4 separate regions of the Homo sapiens genome follow, and regions 2, 3 and 4 are each linked to region 1. Evidence: promoter capture Hi-C in 16 types of primary human blood cells and fetal thymus (Javierre and others, 2016). All regions are on one chromosome and are shown on one strand. The core of a region is centred on a gene start or on the middle of the fragment in contact, and the rest is flanking DNA. Distances in the headings are between cores, read along the strand shown.

What was found. Contacts are between HindIII fragments. The CHiCAGO score rates a contact against its expected background, and 5 or more counts as called.
Region 2: a contact is called between a fragment that was not itself captured here and the fragment with the promoter of RASA2 in region 1, in 5 of 17 cell types (M0 macrophages, erythroblasts, fetal thymus and 2 more). The highest score is 6.5, in M0 macrophages.
Region 3: a contact is called between a fragment that was not itself captured here and the fragment with the promoter of RASA2 in region 1, in 14 of 17 cell types (total B cells, M0 macrophages, total CD8 T cells and 11 more). The highest score is 10.6, in total B cells.
Region 4: a fragment that was not itself captured here is called in contact with the fragment with the promoter of RASA2 in region 1 in 3 of 17 cell types (monocytes, M0 macrophages and M2 macrophages); the score reaches 6.7 in monocytes.

The regions. Positions count from the first base shown.
Region 1 is chr3:141,482,967-141,488,276 of GRCh38, reverse strand. It overlaps RASA2 (RAS p21 protein activator 2), which reads right to left and starts at 1,250. Exons shown (of 24, transcript NM_006506.5): 1 at 1,061-1,250. The coding sequence starts at 1,193. RefSeq lists a silencer at 462-1,341. The HindIII fragment of the contact is 5,296 bases long and covers 1-2,435 here.
Region 2 is chr3:141,919,020-141,924,329 of GRCh38, reverse strand. ATP1B3 (ATPase Na+/K+ transporting subunit beta 3) reads right to left here. Exons shown (of 7, transcript NM_001679.4): 6 at 2,267-2,353. Among named protein-coding and RNA genes, the nearest start is that of ATP1B3, 45 kb to the right of the region's middle. The HindIII fragment of the contact is 1,083 bases long and covers 2,511-3,593 here.
Region 3 is chr3:141,900,180-141,905,489 of GRCh38, reverse strand. It overlaps ATP1B3 (ATPase Na+/K+ transporting subunit beta 3), which reads right to left. Exons shown (of 7, transcript NM_001679.4): 2 at 1,742-1,870. It also overlaps the pseudogene RNU6-509P. Among named protein-coding and RNA genes, the nearest start is that of ATP1B3, 26 kb to the right of the region's middle. RefSeq lists enhancers at 65-565, 566-1,066. The HindIII fragment of the contact is 167 bases long and covers 1,983-2,149 here.
Region 4 is chr3:141,856,021-141,861,330 of GRCh38, reverse strand. It overlaps LOC105374134 (a long non-coding RNA gene), which reads right to left. Exons shown (of 3, transcript XR_924551.3): 2 at 2,751-2,914; 3 at 108-447. Among named protein-coding and RNA genes, the nearest start is that of ATP1B3, 18 kb to the left of the region's middle. RefSeq lists an enhancer at 1-710. The HindIII fragment of the contact is 1,951 bases long and covers 1,944-3,894 here.

The DNA.
Region 1 (5,310 bases), core at 1-2,500:
AAGAAAATAATGCTAATTTTCGACAAATGCAAAAATAAATGTTATTGATCTCTCTTACAAACAGAAAACAAAAAGCACTTCATCTAAATAAACCACTGTGAAAAAAAAAATGGCAACCTGACACCAAAGGGTCGTTTTTAAAACTAAAATGTTCAAATGACAGAACTCAAATAATCTGTCCACAGTAATGCTCGGACAACTCTGAGCAAAATTTCGTATTTAGTCAACTGGTAGGCTCGCTCACTAAAGTAGCAATTACACGCATGAGAAGGAAGGGAATTAAGCGGGCTGAGTGCGGGCTGGGTGATTGTGTTTTGAGACCTGCTCACAGGAAGCCACTACATCCTGCCTTTAGTCCCGCCTGTCACGCCGTCCCTCGATTCAAGTCCCGGCCGCAGCGAGGTGGGGCAAGTACAGGTGTCCCGCCGAGCTCCTCCCGGGGCGCTCACCCGCGAACAGACCGCGCGGTAGCCACTCGGGCCCCAGGGCGGCCCGTTTCCTGCAGCTCAGGGCGCCTTTTTCAACCTCTCCCAGGCTCGCCGAGCCCAGGAAACGAACAGCCCCCTCCCCTCGGGCCAGCCCCACTTCCCAGCCCGCCACCTCCTCGGGCCGCGCCTCCGTATAATTACTGCTCGGCTCCCACCGCGGGGCCACTCCCCAGCGCCCGCAGCCGCGCGAAGGCCTGAGTCTGAGGGCGGCCGGAAGCTCCTCACGCCCCCGGACCGCGCCCCCGGCCGCGCCCCGGACTCCAGCGTCCCCGCGTCCAGGCCGCTCCCCACGACCGAGCCCCTCACGCCGGCGCAGCCCGGGCTCTCCCACCCCAGGCCCATCTCCAGCTCCCACTCCCTCCGGAGAGCAGCAGCCCCGGCCCACGCCGCCCCGTCGAGGCGACGCCGCCCCCCAACACACCCCCTTCCAGCCTCAACCGCGCCCGGCCCAGGCCCCCTCCCGGGCCCGCGATCCCAGCGCAGCTCGGCGCCGCCACCGCCGCGAACCCGCCGCCCCCTCAGCCTCGCGCCCAGCGCCGCCAGGGCGTCCCCTCAGCCCAGCCCCCGCTTACAGATCTTGCCCCGCAGGCTCTGCAACACTCGAACCTCGCGACTGTCCTGGTCCCCGGCCTCGGGCTCTGCAGTCGCACTCGCCGCTGGCGCCTCGGAAGAAGCCGCCGCAGCAGCAGGCGCCGCCGCCGCCATGGTGCCGCCCGGCCCGTGCCGCAGCCCTGCCGCCTGCGTAGCCGGGCGAGGCGGAGCCCAGCAGCGGCCTAGGCCCAGGCCAGCCGCGCGCCTGGCCCCGCCCCCGGGCCTCGGCCCGACTCGCCCCGCCCCGCCCCGCCCGCCGCGGCCCCGCCCCCGCCCCCCCCGGGTCTCCATTCACCGCCTTCGCCACCCCCGAGCCGGGCTACCCTGCAGAGAACCGTACTCCCGGCTTGGGGCGCTGGCTAAGGGTAGCTCCCAGTCGTGGCTCTGAGCGGCCTTAAAATCCCCACCAGGAGAACGCCCCGGCCCTCCCGTGATCCCTAAATCCTCCCGGGAATTGGGCTCCCCCAATGAATAGACCTGCACATCTCCTAACGCTCGCGGGAAATACAGGCCCTTCCCAATCAGGGAAACTCCCTGTGGGAAGAAAATAGAATGGAATTTGGCAGGTGGGTGGACCTCAAAAGTATCTTATTCAAAAGGAGGCAAGAGATGCATTTGAGGCTCTTCCAGTATTATCCAAATACTCCCCGCCAGCAAGCCAAACTCCTCCCACACAAATACTCTTTACTAGGACCAATTCTCTGCAAAACCTGGTTCAAGAAAAGGACCAGCCACCCCCAACTCCAGCGTGAGTGCAGTGCCTGAGACCCTCTCATAGAGAAATTCTGAAGCATTTACCATCACTTTTGTATTTCAGGAACAGAAAAAGCAAAGAAGGGCTCCCCCCCGCCACCGCCACCACTACTAAAAGTTGGCTTTGTTAAAAAGTTGACTGACCCTAGGAAATGTGTAAATCTTTGACTAATTGTTAGCTTTATTTCAAGGGAACTCTTTACAGTGAGTAAACTGCATGAATAATACCCTGGTATGTGATGAGGAAGACAATTTCCTGGTGTTGAGGTTGTTAACTACGCTGCCCTAAGAAGGAAGAAACTGTGACTTAATCGGGCAGGGTAATTCTTTTCCAGGGCAACAACAGGAATAAGCCAGTCAGTCAACAAATATTTTTTGAGGGTCAGACATAGTGATGGCCTCAGACCTCAGAGACTACACAAAGGTCAAGATGAAGAGAGCTCCAGCTCATTCTGGAGGGAGACACAGAAAAGGCCAGAGGCACTGGGAGATAAGAAATAGGACGGGGAAACCTGAAAACTGAAGACAAACGCGCCGCCTGTGCAAAGGCTGGACAGCCCCAGAGAATGGTCAGAGTTTAACATGGACCTGGCCAGCGAAGCTTCCAGTTCTGCCTGTGTTGCAGGTGACTTCTATTTCCCCATGTGATCTTTACACTTGTTGGATAAAGTGAACCACTTCCTCTTATATGAATGTTTTGCTGTCATTTCAAACATAAGTCCAAAACTTAATTTCCTGTCTCCCTTTCCAAATCTGAGTTCACATCTTATACTGTTACTCAGGCCAGAAACTTTGACTTTTTCTTATCCCTTGTCCCAATGCTGTTTTCAGTTGCCACATCCTTCTGACTCTGCTGAAATCTCTTCCTTCCTTTCCATTCTCTGTCATTGCCCTTGTTAAAATTATTCTCATTTAAAGAGTATCAACGTGTTACAGGGTTTTTTCCCCCTTATTTTTAAAGGCATCCCTTTTTAGAATCAGACATAGAGCCTGTTTCTACCCCTTTTACATTTGGGCAAGTTACTCAACCTTCCTAAACCTGTTTCTGTTTCTTCTCTTTCTTTCTTTCTTTTTTTTTTTGACAGTCTTGCTCTGTTGCCTAGGCTGGAGTGCAGTGGCACGATCTCAGCTCACTGCAGCTTCAACTTCCTGGGCTCAAGCTATCCTCCCATGTCAGCCTCCTAAGTAGCTGGGACTACAGGTGCGCGCCACCATGTCCAGTTAATTTTTGTATTTTTGGTAGAGATGGGGTTTTGCCATGTTGCCCAGGCTGGTCTTGAACTTCTGGGCTCAAGTGATCCATCCGCGTCAGCCTCCCAAAGTGCTGGGTGTAAGCCACTGCGCCCGGTTGAACCTGTTTCTTTAACAGTAAAGTGGAAATGCTAAACTTTCTTCTTTGAAGGGTTGTTATTAAGATTAAATAAGTATTGGGAGCAGGGTGTTAAGTGTCTAGTGGAATGCTGAGCACGTAGTAGGATTACCTCAGTAACTGACCTCATGCTTTTGACTGGAACTCTGGTAATAAGTCCCCCATCCCTCTCATTCCTCCTACATACCACTTAAATTAACTTTCCTAACAAAAAAAATGGAGCTTATCAGTTGCCTGCTCAAGAGGACATCAGTGGCTTCATTTATCCCTTCAGCCAGCTAGCAAGAGCACACTACAGGTAATGAACAATGCTAGAAATGACTAAAGTTCAAATTCTTCAGCCAAGAGTTGGAACTGGATCCAGCGTACCTGACTCCTCTGATCTCCAGCCACACTGAGCCCCTTTTCTCACCAGCCTGATTCTGGCCTTCCTCCTGCTTGGCCAAGCGATGCCTCATCCATCTATTTCTTTCTCCAATAAACAGAGAAATTATTTGAACCTTTGGACAAATGTATCCATGGATAAAGTATCAATGTACAAATGGACAAATGTATCCAATGGACAAACGTATCCAATGGACAAAGTATCAATATCTTTGTCCATTAGTGTCAAAATCTTCTAACTTCCCTTCCTTTTCACTAGCTTAACCCCAAGTGCATAACTCTGTTACTAAATGGTCACTAAAGGTATGAAAACAATTTTACATAAAGGGACACTCCACTTTTTTGTTCTTCCAGACAGTCTTCCTTTTGCAGATTTCGGACTTATACCGTTTCACTAAAATCCCCAAACTCCATTGCTTTTTCATCCGAAGTCACTTCTAATTATTCTGTTTTTACTGATACTTGCCTACTTTGAAGAGATCTTGGGTAATGTCAATGTTTCCTTAATATAAAATATTTGGAAAATAAAGTTTTCTTTCTTTCTTTCTTTTCTTTTTTTTTTTTTTAAGATGGAGTCTTGCTCTGTTGCCCAGGCTGGAATGCAGTGGCGCGATCTCGGCTCACTGCAAGCTCCGCCTCCCGGGTTCATGCCATCCTCCTGCCTCAGCCTTCCTAGTAGCTGGGACTACAGGCGCCCGCCACTGCGCCCGGCTAATTTTTTTTGTGTTTTTAGTAGAGACGTGGTTTCACTGTGGTCTTGATCTCCTGACCTCGTGATCCACCAGCCTCAGCCTCCTAAAGTGCTGGGATTACAGGCGTGAGCCACCGCGCCCGGCCGAAAATAAAGTTTTCTAAAGACTAACAAGACATACAGTATAATTACGAGAAGGCTGTTACATCTCATTCCCCTTATTGCCCTTGCATTATGTTTTAAATTCATCTAGAGTTCCTCTCTTTTCTTCATGATGTTTAGTAACTGGAACAATATTGCATCATCACAAACTTGAACTTCACTTCCTTCCTCAAATTATTAATGAATGTGTTTAAAGGCCATCCCTTCTATCCCTACCACTCTTCGTTCTGATGAGCAACCATTCACTACTATGTCTTTTCCTATTTCTTCACCAGTTTTAAACTCATTCAGTCATTTCAACCCATACATTGGCTTGCTTTATGGCAGATGATGTAGGAAAACTACATTGTCTCTTAATAAGAAGACTATAACCTGCAGCTAGAAACTAATTCCATAACTTGTCTGTTACGGCATATTTTTGAATCAGCACCCACCAACCTATAACATGGCATTGTAAGGGGTTGTCTCCTGGCCTTGAGTTATTTATTACATTTTTTCTGGCGAGTAGGAGGAAGAGAAATGTGCTTTCTTTTTAATATTTAAATGTAGATCATTTTCATAGGGCTGGACACTCATGAGACAGAACTGTTTCTGCCGGACTGGTGGGAAAGCAAGTTCCTTTGATCATTGATGACTTGGTTTCCCCATTTGCCCCATCAGAGTACTGTTTGATGTTAAGCATTATGCACTAATTACATTATTAAAAAAAAATCTCTAAATCCAACTGGCATTTTAAAAAATAAAATTGGAGTGGTAGGAGGTGAGGAGAGACCTTAAATGTTCAGAAAACATACTTTCAACATTTCATTTGAAGACCAAATAAGGCCATTGACAAGGCTGTGTGGACAAAAATGTGGACAAATTTTTACCTT
Region 2 (5,310 bases), core at 1,803-4,302, 430 kb before region 1:
ATTCTGTTGCCAGGCTGGAGTGCAATGGTGCAATCTCGGCTCACTGCAACCTCTGCCTTCCTGGTTCAAGTGATTCTCCTGCCTCAGCCTCCTGGGTAGCTGGGATTACAGGAGTGTGCCACCACGGTCAGCTAATTTTTGTATTTTTAGTAGAGACAGCGTTTCACCATGTTGGTCAGGCTGGTCTCGAACTCTCCACCTCAGGTGATCCGCCTGTCTCAGCCTCCCAAAGTGCTGGGATTACAGGCGTGAGCCACCGTGCCAGGCAGTAACGAGCTTTTTAATTTTCTCCCCACATGATACTTATTGATGACAGAGGAAAAAAAGTATATTGTAGAAACCTCGCTCATACCACCTTAACCAAGGAATCAAGGCAGTATCACCATTAACGGAATGAAATGATACCATGTCCCTCCTGACACTCTGAGAACTCAACATTTCTTTTGAGGCACTCATGCCAAAATGCACAACCTATATTTAATCATGAAAAACCACCAAACTCCAACTAATGAACATAAAATAAGCCATAAAAGGCCCGTACTTATTTTTGAAGAGTACAAAGCCATGAAACAGACTGAGGAAATATTCCTGATTATAGGTTGCTAAACGTGTTAACAGTGTGACATCTGGGATCAGGAAAACACTTGTCTTTCACTATAAAGAGTATTACTGGAACAATTGATGGATTTTCAACAAAGTCTACAGATTCATAAGAGCACTATATGTTAACTTCCTTTGTTAACTGTACTACTGTCTTTGTTTTCTGTTGCTTATAACACAATACTTGAAACTGGGTAATTTATAAAGAAAGGAATTTATTTCTTACAGTTAATGGAGGCTGAGAAGGCCAAGATCAAGGAGCTGCATCTGGTGAGAACCTTCTTTGCTGCTGGGTACTTTCAACAGAGTCCTGAGGTGGTGCAAGGCATCACGTGGCCAGGGGGCTGAGCATGCTAACCTGCTAGCTCAGGTCTCTCTTCCTCTTCTTATAAAGCCGCTAGTCCCACTCCTATGATAACTCATTAGTCCACTAACCTATTTTTTTTTTTTTTGAGATAGAGTCTTGCTTTGTTGCCCAGGCTGGAGTGCAATGGTGCAGTCTTGGCTCACTGCAATCTCTGCCTCCCAGGTTGAAGCGATTCTCCTGCCTCAGTCTCCCGAGTAGCTGGGATTACATGCACCCACCACTATGCCCGGCTAATTTTTGTATTTTCAGCAGAGACGGGGTTTCACTATGCTAGTCAGGCTGGTCTAGAACTCCTGACCTCAGGTGATCTGCCCGCCTCGGCCTCCCAAAATGCTGCGATTGCAGGCGTGAGCCACCACACCCGGCCGCAATGAGCTTTTGATTTTTTTTCTTTTTTGAGACAGAGTCTCGCTCTGTTGCCCAGGCTGGAGTGCAGTGGCACAATCTCGGCTCACTGTAACCTCCGACTCCCAGGTTCATGCCAGTCTCCTGCCTCACCCTCTCGAGCAGCTGGGACTACAGGTGCCTGCCACCACGCCCAGCTAATTTTTTGTAATTTTTAGTAGAGACGGGGTTTCACCGTGTTAGCCAGGATGGTCTTGATCTCCTGACCTCGTGATCTGCCCGACTCGGCCTCCCAAAGTGCTGGGATTACAGGTGAGCCACTGCGCCTGGCCTTGATTTTCTTTTCATTTATTTTTTTGGTGGGGGAAACAGAATCCCATTCTGTCACCCAACCTGGAGTGTGGTGGTACAATCTTGGCTCACTGCAACCTCCACCTCCTGGGTTCAAGCGATTCTCCTGCCTCAGCCTCCCGAGTAGCTGGGACTACAGGCACATGTCACCACGCCCAGCTAATTTTTGTATTTTTAGTAGAGAGGGGGTTTCGCCAAGTTGGCCAGGCTGGTCTCAAACTCCTGACCTCAGGTAATGCGCCCGCCTTGGCCTCTCAAAGTGCTGTGATTACAGGAGTAAGCCACCGCACCCGGCCTTGATTTTCTTTTTAAGTACTTTTCTACTTTCTCTACATAAGCACCTACTACTACCTCTATAATGAAAAAGAAAATGATATTTTAGAAATAATCATCTAACTTTAACGTATCTGCTTGGGTTCTGTGTTCTGAATTGTAAATGTGGGAACTCCATTTACCATCACCATTAAAATAAAACAAAACCTGAATAGATGACGCACAAATTAAACAGGGCTGGCGTCTACCTACCCCAGACAAGTGGTACGTCAACACATGCTCCAGCTTCCCAAAAGAGTAATCACCACATAAGAACTTCTCAATACTTACATGCAGTTTTTTCCCATAATATGGGAAATATTTTAAGTCTATCATTCCATTATGAGGATAAACTGCTACATTTGGTATATCTTCATTCTGAAGTTGAAAACAAAAGAAATCCTCTTTAGGTCACAAAAAGAATTTGTAAAAACTATGTTTATAATTAAAGGAATATCAATCATGAACAGTTTGCAGAAACTACAATGCTGCTCCAACTATATTATCATTACAAGTGTATTTCTGAGAAGAAGCTTGCTCATCTTGATTGCAAATATTATCTAACTAACCCCTTCCACATGAACTATCCTGATACTTACACTTCCAGATACACTCTATACTCTCTTTCATGAGAGTCCCTTCTTTAACTCATGTACTCCTGTAAAATCTTATCTGCCCTCCAAATACCAAATGCCAGCCTTTCTACCTACTAACAGCAGGAATGCACCAGCAGGTTTAGGACCGATGTTTTCCTGAAATGAATAAAATGCTGTGCTTCCAGACTGGAAAGCAACAGCCACCACAAGGTGCCAACCTAGAATGCAGCACTCAGGCCTGGGAGACAGCAGGTGTGAGTTTCATGTGATTAATAACCAGAACTGCAACCAGAGGGGAAGCATGAAGGAAAATTTAAGGTACTACAAGCAAAACTCTCCTCGACAAATTTAAATACTGTATCAGGAATAAATTTATGAGCATATATAAATCATTAAGTATTACTTGTCTACTAGAATTCCATGTTTATCAACATACAAATCAAGCATCACCTGTAATCCAATTAATTCATGCTATTAGTTATTTCTAGTATTATTCATGATAAATAAGCAATTTATGAAAATTCACATGTAACACTTTCTAAATGGGCCTAATTCTAATGAGTGTAACTTTAACACAGACTGAGAAGTAGCAAACAGACCACAATGATTAAAATCAGTGCTGGGCTTACGGAACACTAGTTAAAATAAAACATTATTAAATACTTGAATTTTATATATATATAAAAAAATTTTTTTGAGACAGGGTTGAAAGCATGCATGAAACAGCATAAAGCAAAACTAAGAATCCACTCTAAGGAGTTCTAGATTCTGCTCATTTCATTTCATTATGAAGCAGCATATGGCTGTGGGGTGGGGTGAGAGACAGATGAAAGGCACCGGCCAGACAGCACAAAGGACAGAGTGATGATGCGCCCCACCCACCAGACAAGCTCTAATGATCCAGATGATGAATATGTGGAAAGGGTAGGAAGTAACAACGCTAGGAGAAATCGCAAAAGCCATTTTCAATCACTACTCAAACTCCACCCTACATTTGTACTCTTTAACTTAAAAAATAAGCTTAAAATCAAAGATAACATTTTATATTAGAGAAAAACTAGTCACTCTGATATCAGTGCTTTTCTGCATTAATTGCTTTTGTTGAACCTATTTTACCTTAATATATGACCTTCACAGAACACATTTCCGCAAAATGAAAAAAAGGATTTTTTTTGAGAAACAGTTTACTGAGTATCTTGGAGTATGTTTCTTTTTTCTTTTTTCTTTTTTTTGAGACAGAGTCTCACTCTGTTGCCTAAGCCAGAGTGCAATGGCCTGATCTTGGCTCACTGCAGCCTCCTCCTCCCGGGTTCAAGCGATTCTCCTGTCTCAGCCTCCTGAATAGCTGGGATTACAAGTGTGCGCCACCATGCAGGGCTGATTTTTGTATCTTTAGTAGAGACGGAGTTTTGTCATGTTGGCCAGGCTGGTCTCAAACTCCTTACCTCAAGTGATCCACCACACCCAACCCAGAGTGGGTTTCCTACCAGATACCACACTTAGCTTACACTTCCCTCCTTTAGGCCTAACAAGCCTTAGTGGACAGCATCAATTACGGAGCAGGGCACTGGGGCTCAGAGTTAAGGCCATCACGGCTCAAGACCATCAGGTGTGGCAGACGCTCAACTGCTCTCTGTGTGTGCCTAAGACGTGATCTTGGCAGGATTTTTCTTAATCTTTTAATTTATACCTTCTGTGAAAATAAACATTTAGAAATTGTAAAATATTAAAATGAGTATCTGAATAATAATGAGGTACTCAGGGTGAAGCATGTATGTCATAATTTTCTAAGTATACGAATAGCATATTTTTTTTTCTTTTTGAGACAGAGTTGCTCTGTTGCCTAGGATGGAGTGGAGTGGCGCGATCATGGCTCACTACAACCTCTGCCTCCTGGGTACAAGCGATTCTCTTGCCTAAGCCTCCCGAGTAGCTGGGATTACAGGCACATGCCACCACGTCAGGCTCATTTTTTTATTTTTAGTAGAGATGGGGTTTCACCATGTTAGCCAGGCTGGTCTCGAATTCCTGACCTCTGGTGATCCGCCTACCTTGGCCTCCCAAAGTGCTGGAATTACAGGTGAAAGCCACCGCGTCCGGCAATAGCATCATATTGTAAACTATGAGCAACTAACTCTAAGAACCTACTGATGGTCACTAAGTTCCACTGAAACAAAATGGAGTTTAAAAATTAATGCATTTTGTTTCTTCCCATTTTTTGATTTTCTTAGTATGATTCATTTTCATAAGAAAATAAAACACTGAGAAAAAAATGACATAAATATGAAAATTACATCTTTTGCAGGATCATCTTTTAAGTTGATAATATAAAAGGCCACCTTGGCCATCTGCGGTGGTTCACACCTGTAATTCCAGCATTTTCAAAGGCGGAGGTGGGTGGATTGCTTGAGGCCAGGAGTTTAAGACCAGCCTGGCAACATGGTGACACCCTGTCTCTATGGAGAGAGAGAGAAAAAAAAAAAGCACCTCCAAGGGTATGTTAAGTGTTTGTATTTTCAGGACTCTAACTTGTATAAAAACAATCAAGGCAGAACAAAATCAATACAAGACAAAATAAAAGACATATGTATTACATAAAAGAACTAAAGAATTTAAAGAACGCTTGACATAGACAAATCTAATAGAAAATTGCAATTATGATATGTAGTAAATGCTTCCATCTGTTCTGGAGAGCCACACTTCTAAAATTTATGGGTTCTAACTGGTTTACTACTTGTG
Region 3 (5,310 bases), core at 817-3,316, 420 kb before region 1:
CTATACAGTGAGCAAGGATCTAGATAAGGGCACTTCCATCTCAGCATTATTGGCATTTTGGGCTGAATAATTCTTTGTTGTGGGGGTTGCCCTATGCACTGTAGGATGTTTAGCAACATCCCTGGCCTCTATTCACAGTACCACCTCTCTAGCTGTAACAACCAAAAATATTTCCAGACGCTGCCATATGACTCAGTGGTTGAAAACCACTGCTCTAGAGAGAAACCTGCTAGACTCCCACCTTCCTGGCCCGATTCCCCACTCTCCTGCCCTCTAAATCCCACTCCTCTAGGACTGAACTTTCTTCTTTAGGTAGAACCTTCCCTTCTCTGTCATCTATAGCAGTTAGTTTACAGTCTTTGGAATTATACACACTGAAGTTCTGCACATTACTGTTTCTTACTTTTCTAATTATCAGCATCTGAGGACAAGGGTCATGTCCAGTCACCAAGGGAGAGCTGGCATTCAAAGACTGTTTAGGCCAGGTGTGGTGGCTCACCCCTGTAATCCCAGCACTTTGGGAGGCCGAGGCGGGTGGATCGCCTGAGGTCAGGAGTTCGAGACCAGCCTGGCCAACGTGGTGAAACCCCGTCTCTACTAAAAATACAAAAAATTAGCTGGGCGTGGTGACACATGCTTGTAATCCCAGCTCCTTGGGAGGCTGAGGCAGGAGAATCGCTTGAACCCGGGAGGCAGAGGTTGCAGTGAGCCGAGATCACACCATTGCACTCCAGCCTAGGCAACAGGAGCAAAGCCCTGTCTCAAAAAAAAAAAAAAAAAAAAAAAGACTGTTTAAAAAGAATAAAATCAGGAGGTAGAAAATGTGGTTTAGATGTTTCAGTTTTTTACTGCATACATTCTCCTGTATAATGAATTTTTTTTCCAGAAGAAAATCAAGAAGAATTAAACATATGAAGAGTATATTCATTTTGTTCTCTATGAGGTATCATTATTTAACAACTTACCAATTTCATAACTAACCATTTAGAACGACAAAGTATGTATTTTATAAGTCCAAAGCTCTAACTGAAGCTAGTGCCAAAATATATACCTTAATTACTCAAGGCAAAGTAAAACTGCTCTACGATACTCATAAGTCACTCATAACTATAACTATATTCTTCAAACGTGGCTTTTACTAGAATTCTCAATATTCATTTGCTTACTTCTGACAAAAAAAAAAAGAAACCGAAACAAACAAAACAAACCCACTCAAACTCTCAAGATTTATCAGTATATAAATGTGAAGGTCTTTAAATCAGTATGTAAATATTAAACAACAACAACAAAAATTAAAACCTTCACATTACTCAGCTCCAAGGTTTAGCTATCTTCTATCTGCTATATAAAACAGATTTATGGTGAAGATAAACTATAACTCAATTTTGTTAAAAGCCGTAACCACTGCCAGGCACAGTGGCTCACGCCTGTAATCCCAGCACTTTGGGAGGCCAAGGCGGGGCAGATCACCTGAGGTCGGGAGTTCGAGACCAGCCTGACCAACATGGAAAAACCCTGTCTCTACTAAAAATACAAAATTAGCCGGGCGTGGTGGCGCATGCCTGTAATCCCAGCTACTTAGCAGGCTGAGGAGGCAGGAGAATCGCTTGAACCTGGGAGGCAGAGGTTGCAGTGACCCAAGATCATGCCACTGCATTCCAGCCTGGGCAACAAGAGTGAAACTCTGTCTCAAAAAAAAAACAAAAAACAAAAAACAAAGTCATAACTGCAAGATAATTACCTGGGCTAGGAATCTGGTCACGGTATTTTGGAACCTCATCGTTGAGAGTCTGAAGCATAACCCACATCGTGAATGAGAAGAGTGCAGCCAGGAACCCATAAAAAACTAGGTAGAAGAGCAAGATCAAACCTGTAAAAGAAAATAAAACTTATGAAATGTGCACGTGCGTGTGTGTGTGTATGCATGTTTGGCCAGGTTAAAAAACAAACCAACTGTTCTTGCAAGGGTACGATCCCAAGCTTTGCCATGCACATAGCCAAATATCCTCATATTCAGGACACATAAATTTGCCCAAGCAAGGGGTATTTCAGCAGACAGCACCCACCCATCCCATGACCCCTCCTTTTCCCTGGTATTTCCAAGTTAAAGCAGCTTCCACCATTCATACTCTGGTTCAAAATCAAAGCTTTAAAATTCCAGTACATAGGGGAATGTTTCCCAAAATGAACTTGATGCCCTCTAAAAAGATACAAGATGGTTTTAGGTAAACAAAACCCCCAATATTTACATGATCCTTTAAGTGGCGAATATAAAAGAATTAGTACATGAAACGCATATTTCACAGACAGTAATTATTTGCTTAAATTTAAGTTTTAAAAAGTGAGTTAATGGCTCCCACCTGTAATGCCAGCACTTTGAGAGGCTGAGATGGGAGGATCGCCTGAGCCCAGGAGTTGGGACTAGCCCAGGAAACACTTTGTCTTTACAAAAAAATTAGGTGCTCACTTTGGCAGCACATATACTAACAGTGGAACGATACAGAGAAGATTAGCATGGCCCTTGTGCAAGGATGACATGCAAATTTGTGAGTCGTTCCATATTTAAAAAATTAAAAAAATATATATTTTAAAAACTGAGTTCATTGAAAGAATATCAGGAAATGTGCAGATAAGGCCAACTTATGAAGACAGCACTCAATGAATAAAGTTTAGGACACACTGGTCAAATGGCAGGGCTCGTGCAAAAGTGAAAAAAGGACAAGGTCAGAAACAAGCCCTCTGATCAATGGAATTTCATAGCTCTACTGCTAAGCACAAAGCAAGATTTGGGAGACACACGTTTCAACATTAAGGGCTTAATCTCTTTCCTTTCACAATTTGGGAACACTAAGATAGATCTATCCTGAACCAGTGATTTACTTTGGGAACACTTAAAATCAATTATTTTTCTCAAATGTCTATATTCAAAGTTCTAACATCAGAAGTGGCTGCCAACAAGTATATTAGAATACATTGGTAAAGTCACTTGTATTTCAAGGTTTAAAAACTGATCAAAGATTCATTTCTGTAATAATATATTTCTGAATATATTTTCCCCCCAGGGAGTGGCTCCACAACTTTCTTCTGATTCTCAAAAGATCCCATGACCCCAAAACAGATTGTGCTGAAAGCTAGATAACTTTTATTTCTCAACTGCAAGGCAGGAATCACCCCCAACCCCCTTTTTCAAGTAAAGGGGAAATAGTTAAAGCAATTTCATTTTATAATTTAGACTAGCATTCTACCCCTCCCCCCCAATTACCAGGTGGCCAAAATAAGGATGGAGAGGACAGAAGAGAGGAGAACAGGATGTCACCTTCAGACAGCATCACTTCCCTACCACATACTGCGATCCTGTTGCAGAAAAAGAAAAGACCAATCTCAAAGAAGTAAACAGTTTGCTATAGAGGGAAATGAAACACACAGAAAGCCCACAGGCCAGTTTAATAAGATACAGAAGAGAAATTCTTTGAGATCTAGGTGTCTGCAGGAACGAAGGGATAAAATCCTCTACACCAGGGCTGACAGAAACTTAAATGTAATGAGTGTGGCTGTATTCCAATAAGGTTTTGCTTATAAAAATAGGCAGACTGGGGCCACAGTAGTTTGTTGACCCATGCAGTTGACATTAAAGTGGAGATGTCTGAAACAAAATTGCTAAGAGTTTAATTATTTAGCAGTGTTTTTAAGTCATCTTAAAATATTCTTGTTACAATACTGTTTTGAACATTTTGATTTTAAATTTCTAGGAAAATAATGTAAATTAAATTTACAAAATAGTTATAAAGCAAATAAATATATAGCAGATATGAACAAACTATATCCAAATCTGCTTTCTAAGGAACTATTACACAATGAAAATAATGAGTATAAAGAATTACATTCATACAATATATACACAAATCAACAGCTATGTCCCAAATCTGATGCCATATACTAGTGGCCATTAGAAACAAGTAAATAAGTTATTTCCAGCAGTGAAGTGAGTTTTCCTTACTTGAACAAGATCCTTCTGCCAAGAACCAAATCTAATTTTTAAAAACTTAAACTAGTCAGTCTCACATATAAATATACTTTATCAACCACCTCTTCCCCCTAAAAGAAAAAACAACAGAAAATAAAAACAGAAGTTGTAAATTGCTGCTCTTACCCAGGTGTAAAATGGCAGTTAAATTAGTTACTCAGATGTAGTTTGCTGATGGGGCTCTAAATGGCGGCGTCCTGACTTAGTCATGGATAGTGTTCATGGAACCTATTCAATGTGCCATGCCCGCCTCAGTGCTACTTGATGTAAGCAGAAAACAGCAAATACAGCCTAAATAGTACCTATCATATTACTAACGTTCCCTAGCTAGTTTAAAATCTTTCAAGAAATTTCCTTATTACCCAACTAAAGAAACTAACATGGGCCAGGTGCAGTGGCTCACGCCTGTAATCCCAGCACTTTGGGAGGCCAAGGCGGGCAGATCACCTGAGGTCAGGAGTTCGAGACTAGCCTGGCCAATATGATGAAACCCTGTCTCTACTAAAAATGCAAAAAATAGCCAGGCGTGGTGGTGCACTCCTGTAATTCCAGCTACTTGAGAGGCTGAGATGGGAGAATTGCTTGAACCCAGGAGGCAGAGGCTGCAGTGAGCCGAGACTGTGCCACTGCACTCCGACCTGGGTGACAGAGAGAGACCCCTTCTCAAAAAAACAAAAACAAGAAAACAACCAGACAGGCAAGAAACCTGGCAAGACTTAGGAACCACCATGTCATCCAGGGGAAGGAGAAACGGGCCCTGTCCAGCTCTTCTGCCTCAACCACACTGGGCGTACAATTCAATTCTGGCACCAACTACCCCATGCTACGGGCTCAGTCCTCCATAGAAATGCTGCTGCAGAGGTCCTCCCACTACCCACACTTCTGACCAACTAGTAACTAATACAGGAGGTTTCCACTGCACCCTCAAGTTTGTTCACTAGAATGACTCACAGAGCTCAGGAAAGTAAGTGCTCAAATTAGGATTTCAGTTTTATTATAAAGGATACATGTAGAATGGGGTCTGGGAGGCAAGGCAGTTTCTGTGTCCTCTCCTTGAGGAATCAGGGCTATCTCCCTCCCAGCACATGTGTTTCCTAACCTGGCAGCTCCACTGAACTTCAGTGTCCAGAGTTTTTACTGGGGTTTCATTATGTAGGTATGATTGACTAAACCACAGGCCACACAATATAGCTCAGTCTCCAGCCCTCTTTCCTGCCCTCCTTGGAGGTCTGGCTAGCTCAAAGTCCCAACCATGTAGGGACTTGGTTTGGTCTTTCTGGGGGACC
Region 4 (5,310 bases), core at 1,670-4,169, 370 kb before region 1:
AGAAAGAACAGGAAATGCTCATATATATTTTGGATCTTGCCACTGGCTGAGCAGGAAGCTGCAAGAGAGATAACAGATGATTAAGGCCTCTCCCCAGGCTCCTTTTGGGAAAGCAGCTTTTGGGAAAACACGTGTAGAAAATGAGAGACAAGTACAACTGAAATGCTTCAACCACGCTTTGTCCGTGTCTGCCGTGTTTACAAAGCATTCTGAAATAACCAAATGAAGTTGCTCCACATCCAGAAAAGTCCTGGTGATTGTACAGTGGCCTGGTGTTAAGCACAGCTTTTTTTTTTTTTTTTCCTAAATCTGTAGCCCTGAGAATAAATCCATTTGTATTTCCTTTTCTTGAGGAAGGAAATGTTCTGGTGCTCAACAGGATGTCCTGATCCTCTCCGTGTAGGCTTTGGTGCTAGCTCCAGTGTCCCGGGTTGAGGGCAGGCACACCTAAAGTAAAGGTAGAAAGTGAGAGAAGAACTGAAAAAGGGAGGCCAAGTTGGAAAACTTGAGAAAGACAATAGCAGGCCTGGGGACTCAATTTGGAAAATGATAGGAAGTAAAATGTCCTTTGATTCTCACCAGGATTCAACTCAAAATCACAGTAAACATTTTAACAGGAGTCTTATACATAGTGCTGAGGGAGGAAATGGCAGTACAGTACAAAGGTGGGATGTTATTTCTATGACAAATGAAAGTTGGCCACCAAGAAACTCAAATCCTAGCTTCAGCCTGCATCTTGGCCTCGTGTTGTGTTCTGTGGGACATTCCCCAAGAGTATGGCTTCTGAGCTGACACAGCCACTTGCTGCCTGTGGCCTTTGGGGATGGACTGTCTCCAACAGGCTGGTACTAGCAGAGATTAACTTCCTTTTGTGGTTCCCAGATTTACATGTAGAACTGATCCTCAAACTGTTACTTTGGAAGTTAGAACAAAGTGTTGACTTGCCAAGTCTTTGTAAAGGGGGCTTAGTTATATGATGCCCTTCAGGCACTTTGGGCTTCTTAGATGTGCCAGTGTTCTAAAGTGAATGTGTTTTGATTTCTGGGGTTAACTTCAGGGTTAGAAGGCGGGTGCACACACCAAACAAAAGGCTTGTTGTCTTCATCATTTTTTTCCCAGGGACCCAGGAAATAAAGGGGTCTTCTTTTCATAGCAGTAGTCTGTCAGTCTTTTCTGGCAGGAATTGAGATTCTGAGGAAGCAGTTAATATGTCTGGTGCAATAAATGTGACTTGGAAATTTGGCTGTCTCTTAACTATCCCCACCTCCTCTCCAGGCTCAGCATTTCCTTCAACACTGGGGTCAATGCTTAGGATAGGGTTGGTTTGACTCTATCCTGCCACTGCCTTGGCCTTAGTTTCCAGGTTTATAGTAACTGGTGTCTGCCTTACCTTCCTGTTCCTGGCTGACCCCTGCTCTGTTCCTAAGTCCCTGGTAATTACAGTCCCCTCCCAGTTTCTCAGTGAGGCGGTTGTTCTCTGTCCCCTCCGGTAACTAGATTCGCCTGACCTGGAGTCCAAAACTCCTATGCCTGAGTCATTCCCATATATCTCAGATGTCCTTGGCATAGAATCACTTGTCCACTCGCCTAACAAAGTATAAGAGTGTTCATATTTTCACTTAGGGCATAGATTTTAACTTTACCTTAATTTTTTAAAGTTTTTAATAAGCAGAAAAATTCACACCTGAATTATTAATTTGTTGAATGCCCTGAATCTCACTGAAAATAACTTAATTGTTAACATTGAATTGCATCAGCCAACAGGAACACAAAAAAGATGGGCCAAATAAACTGTACTATCACCTAACACCTCGTAACATAAGCAAAAGGAAACTTATTATCAATGTCATATGAACAACAAGTGCAAACATTCAATATGTGAACCTGCTGTAACAACCATTCTGGTCAAGGCTCCTGTTTTAGTTTTCATGAGATCAAAAGCTTAGGAATTCAGAATTGTGGTCATCCCCATTGAGTCAATTTTGGTAATTTATATGGACCAGACCTTCGTTATACAGCATCTGTAGCTGCAAAGTGATAGTCTGCTCTTGGTAAACTCTCCATCTTTCACATTATGTGGGGTTTATCTCCTCCTTGAACTCTTGGTAGAACCTTGCCTTATGGACCATGTGGACTTGTTTTCTTTTTTGAAGGTAGATCTTTGACTATTTCTTATATTACTATTGATAAGTTCAGGCTTTCTGTTCCTTGAGTCAATTTTGGTAATTTATATTTCTTTAGAAAGCCATTCTCCATGGTCTGGATTTTCAAATTCATTGGAATAAAGCTGCACATAGCACTTAAAAAATTTGAAATCTCTGCATTCTGTTTTCCTCTCTGATGTTATAGTGTCTTTTTTCTTTCTTTCTTTCTTTCTTTGTTTTTTTTCCTAGTTCATACTTGCCAAAGGCTTTCTATGTTTTGAGCTTGTTAAAACATCAAATTATTGTGTTGGGTTTTCTATTTCATATTATCTGTTTTATCTTTATTAATTCCTTCCTTCTACCTTCTCTGGTTTATTTGTTATTTTCTAGTTTCTAGAGTTGAAAGCTAAGTTCACTCATTTTCAATCTTTCTTGCTTTTTAACATCTGGATTTAACATTATAATTTTCTTCCTGATAAACAATTTTGTTATTTCTCAGTGTTTGAGATGCTTTGTCCTCCTTGTCACTGACTTCTAAATAATCCTACTGCCCAACCCTGTGGGAAAATTACCCCCACTGATACAAGACTTTACCATGTGACTTACTTTAGCCAATAAAACGTAAGTGGAAGTGCAGCCCACAATCTGAATCACAGTGTGATTCCATCATCTTTCTTTTCTTTCTACCAGAAGACCAGCAGTGTCCCACACAGGGCTGTTTCTTCAGCCTGCACACCAGACTGCAGATAACAAGGAGAGTGACAGCTGACCTGGGATGGTGATGGAGCGAGGGAGAAATAAATCTCTTGTAATCTCCTGATACAGTCTTAAATTCTCCAGTATGCATTTCTAAAGAGTTAAATGTCTTCCTATATAGCCAAAATAACATTTTCACATCTAACAAAATTAACATTTATTTCTTTTTTTATTTTTTTTGAGACGGAGTCTTGCTCTGTTGCTCAGGCTGGAGTGCAGTGGCACGATCTCAGCTCACTGCAACCTCTGCCTCCAGGGTTCAAGCGATTCTCTTGTCTCAGCCTCTCAAGTAGCTGGGACTACAGGCTTGTGCCACCATGCCCGGCTAATTTTTTGTATTTTTAGTAGAGATGGGGTTTCACCGTGTTAGCCAGGATGGTCTCAATCTCCTGACCTTGTGATTCCTCCATCTTGGCCTCCCAAAGTGCTGGGATTACAGGCGCGAGCCACCATGCCCGGCCCAATTTCTTAATATTATCTAATACTTAATACATACTCAAATTTCTTCATTTGGCTTCCAAATGTCCTTTATAGCTGGTTTGTACAGATCATGAACTAACCCAGAACCTCATATTCTATTTAATTATTATTATTATTATTTAACTGTCTTATTACACTGATTTTTTTAAGAGACCAGGCCTCCATCATATAGTTATGTTTTTCATCTCCTATGACCAGAAAGTGACCCAAGTGGTATAACTTTGGTACAGCATCAGTAACCAGTTTCCCATTCTTAGAGCTTTAAGGTCAACTGATAATCCTTGCCTGAATTGATAATTTCCTTAGGTACTACAAATGATTCTTTCAGTGTAAAGTAACGGTATAAATGTAAATGTAACCTATAAATGTATAAATGTAGAGTTTTCCCCTGTCATCTGGGATTATTTTGGTTTCTGCAGTAGAGTTGCTACTGCAAAGGCAGGATAAATGCCTACTTCTCCCTCGTTATCCACTTTCAAAGTAAACAGTTGTTTCAAATGGTGACACACAAGCTTTCTCTTACTGTTATAGACTTTGGATTTTTGGAGATTTGATGTGTTTCAATCAACTACAATCATTTTTCTTTTTTGATGTTCAAAGTCTTTCTTACGATATCCCTAATGATTTTTTTTTTCTTTTTTAGCTGGAGTGCAGTTGCGCGATCTCGGCTCACTGCAACCTCCAACTCCCTGGTTCAAGCAATTCTCTCGCCTCAGCCTCCCGAATAGCTGGGATTACAGGCACGTGCCACCATGCCCAGCTAATTTTTGTATTTTTAGTAGAAGGGTTTTACCAGATTGGCCAGGATGGTCTCAACTTCCTGACCTCGTGATCTGCCCACCTCGGCCTCCCAAAGTGCTGGGATTACAGGTGTGAGCCACCGTGTCCGTTCCCCAATGAAATTATTAATCCTAGTAGAATTCTTCACATGGGGAAACAAAAGCACAGGAACCAAAGTCACTGGACTCAGTAAGTCCCTAGAAATGATTAAAAGGGGAGAAAACATAAGACAGATAGGCAGGATGACAGCCACAGTCTGCCTGAGAGCGGCACAGTACATCACTGTGTACAACAGAAATCTGATTTGTCCCTTCTTGTAGCAATCCAAAGAACAGGGGGCCACAGGCAATGTTAGCTCTTAGAAAGAATCACCCCAAAATCATCATTGTTCACTTAAACAGCCAAACTGCTTCACCAGCTCATGCCCCTTCAAGCCAACACACTGTGTAGGTCAGATAAAGAACTAGTTGCACACCTTCAGTGATTAACAATCTATTTGGTGCCAGGCTGTGGTGGCACACACCTGTAGTTCCAGCTACTCAGGAGGCTGAGGCAGGAGAATCACTTCAGCTCAGAGGAGTTTGAGACCAGTCTGGGCAACACAATGAGACATTGTCTCTAAAAAATAAAAATAACCCATTTGGGAATAGTCATTGAGTTAACAAATATTTACTGTTAAGATGATGGGACAATAGGGCTAGGAATGATGGCTTATGCCTGTAATCCCAGCACCAAAGAGGCCAAGGCGGGTGGATCTTTTGAGCTCAGAAATTCGAGACCAGGCCGGACACGGTGGCTTATGCCTGTAATCCCAGCACTTTGGGAGGCTGAGGCAGGCTGATCACTTGAGGTCAGGAGTTTGAGACCAGCCTGGCCAACATGGTGAAACCCCATCTCTACTAAAAATACAAAAATTAGCCGAGCGTGGTGGCACGTGCCTGTAGTCCCAGCTACCCCAAAGGCTGAGGCAGGAGAATCGCTTGAACCCTGGAGGCAGAGGTTACAGTGAGCCGAGATTGCACTGTTGTGCCCTGGCCTGGGCAACAGAATGAGATTCCGTCTCAAAAAAAAAAAAAAAGGGTTGGGCGCAGTGGCTCATGCCTGTAATCTCAGCACTTTGGGAGGCCGAGGCAGGTGGATAACCTGAAGT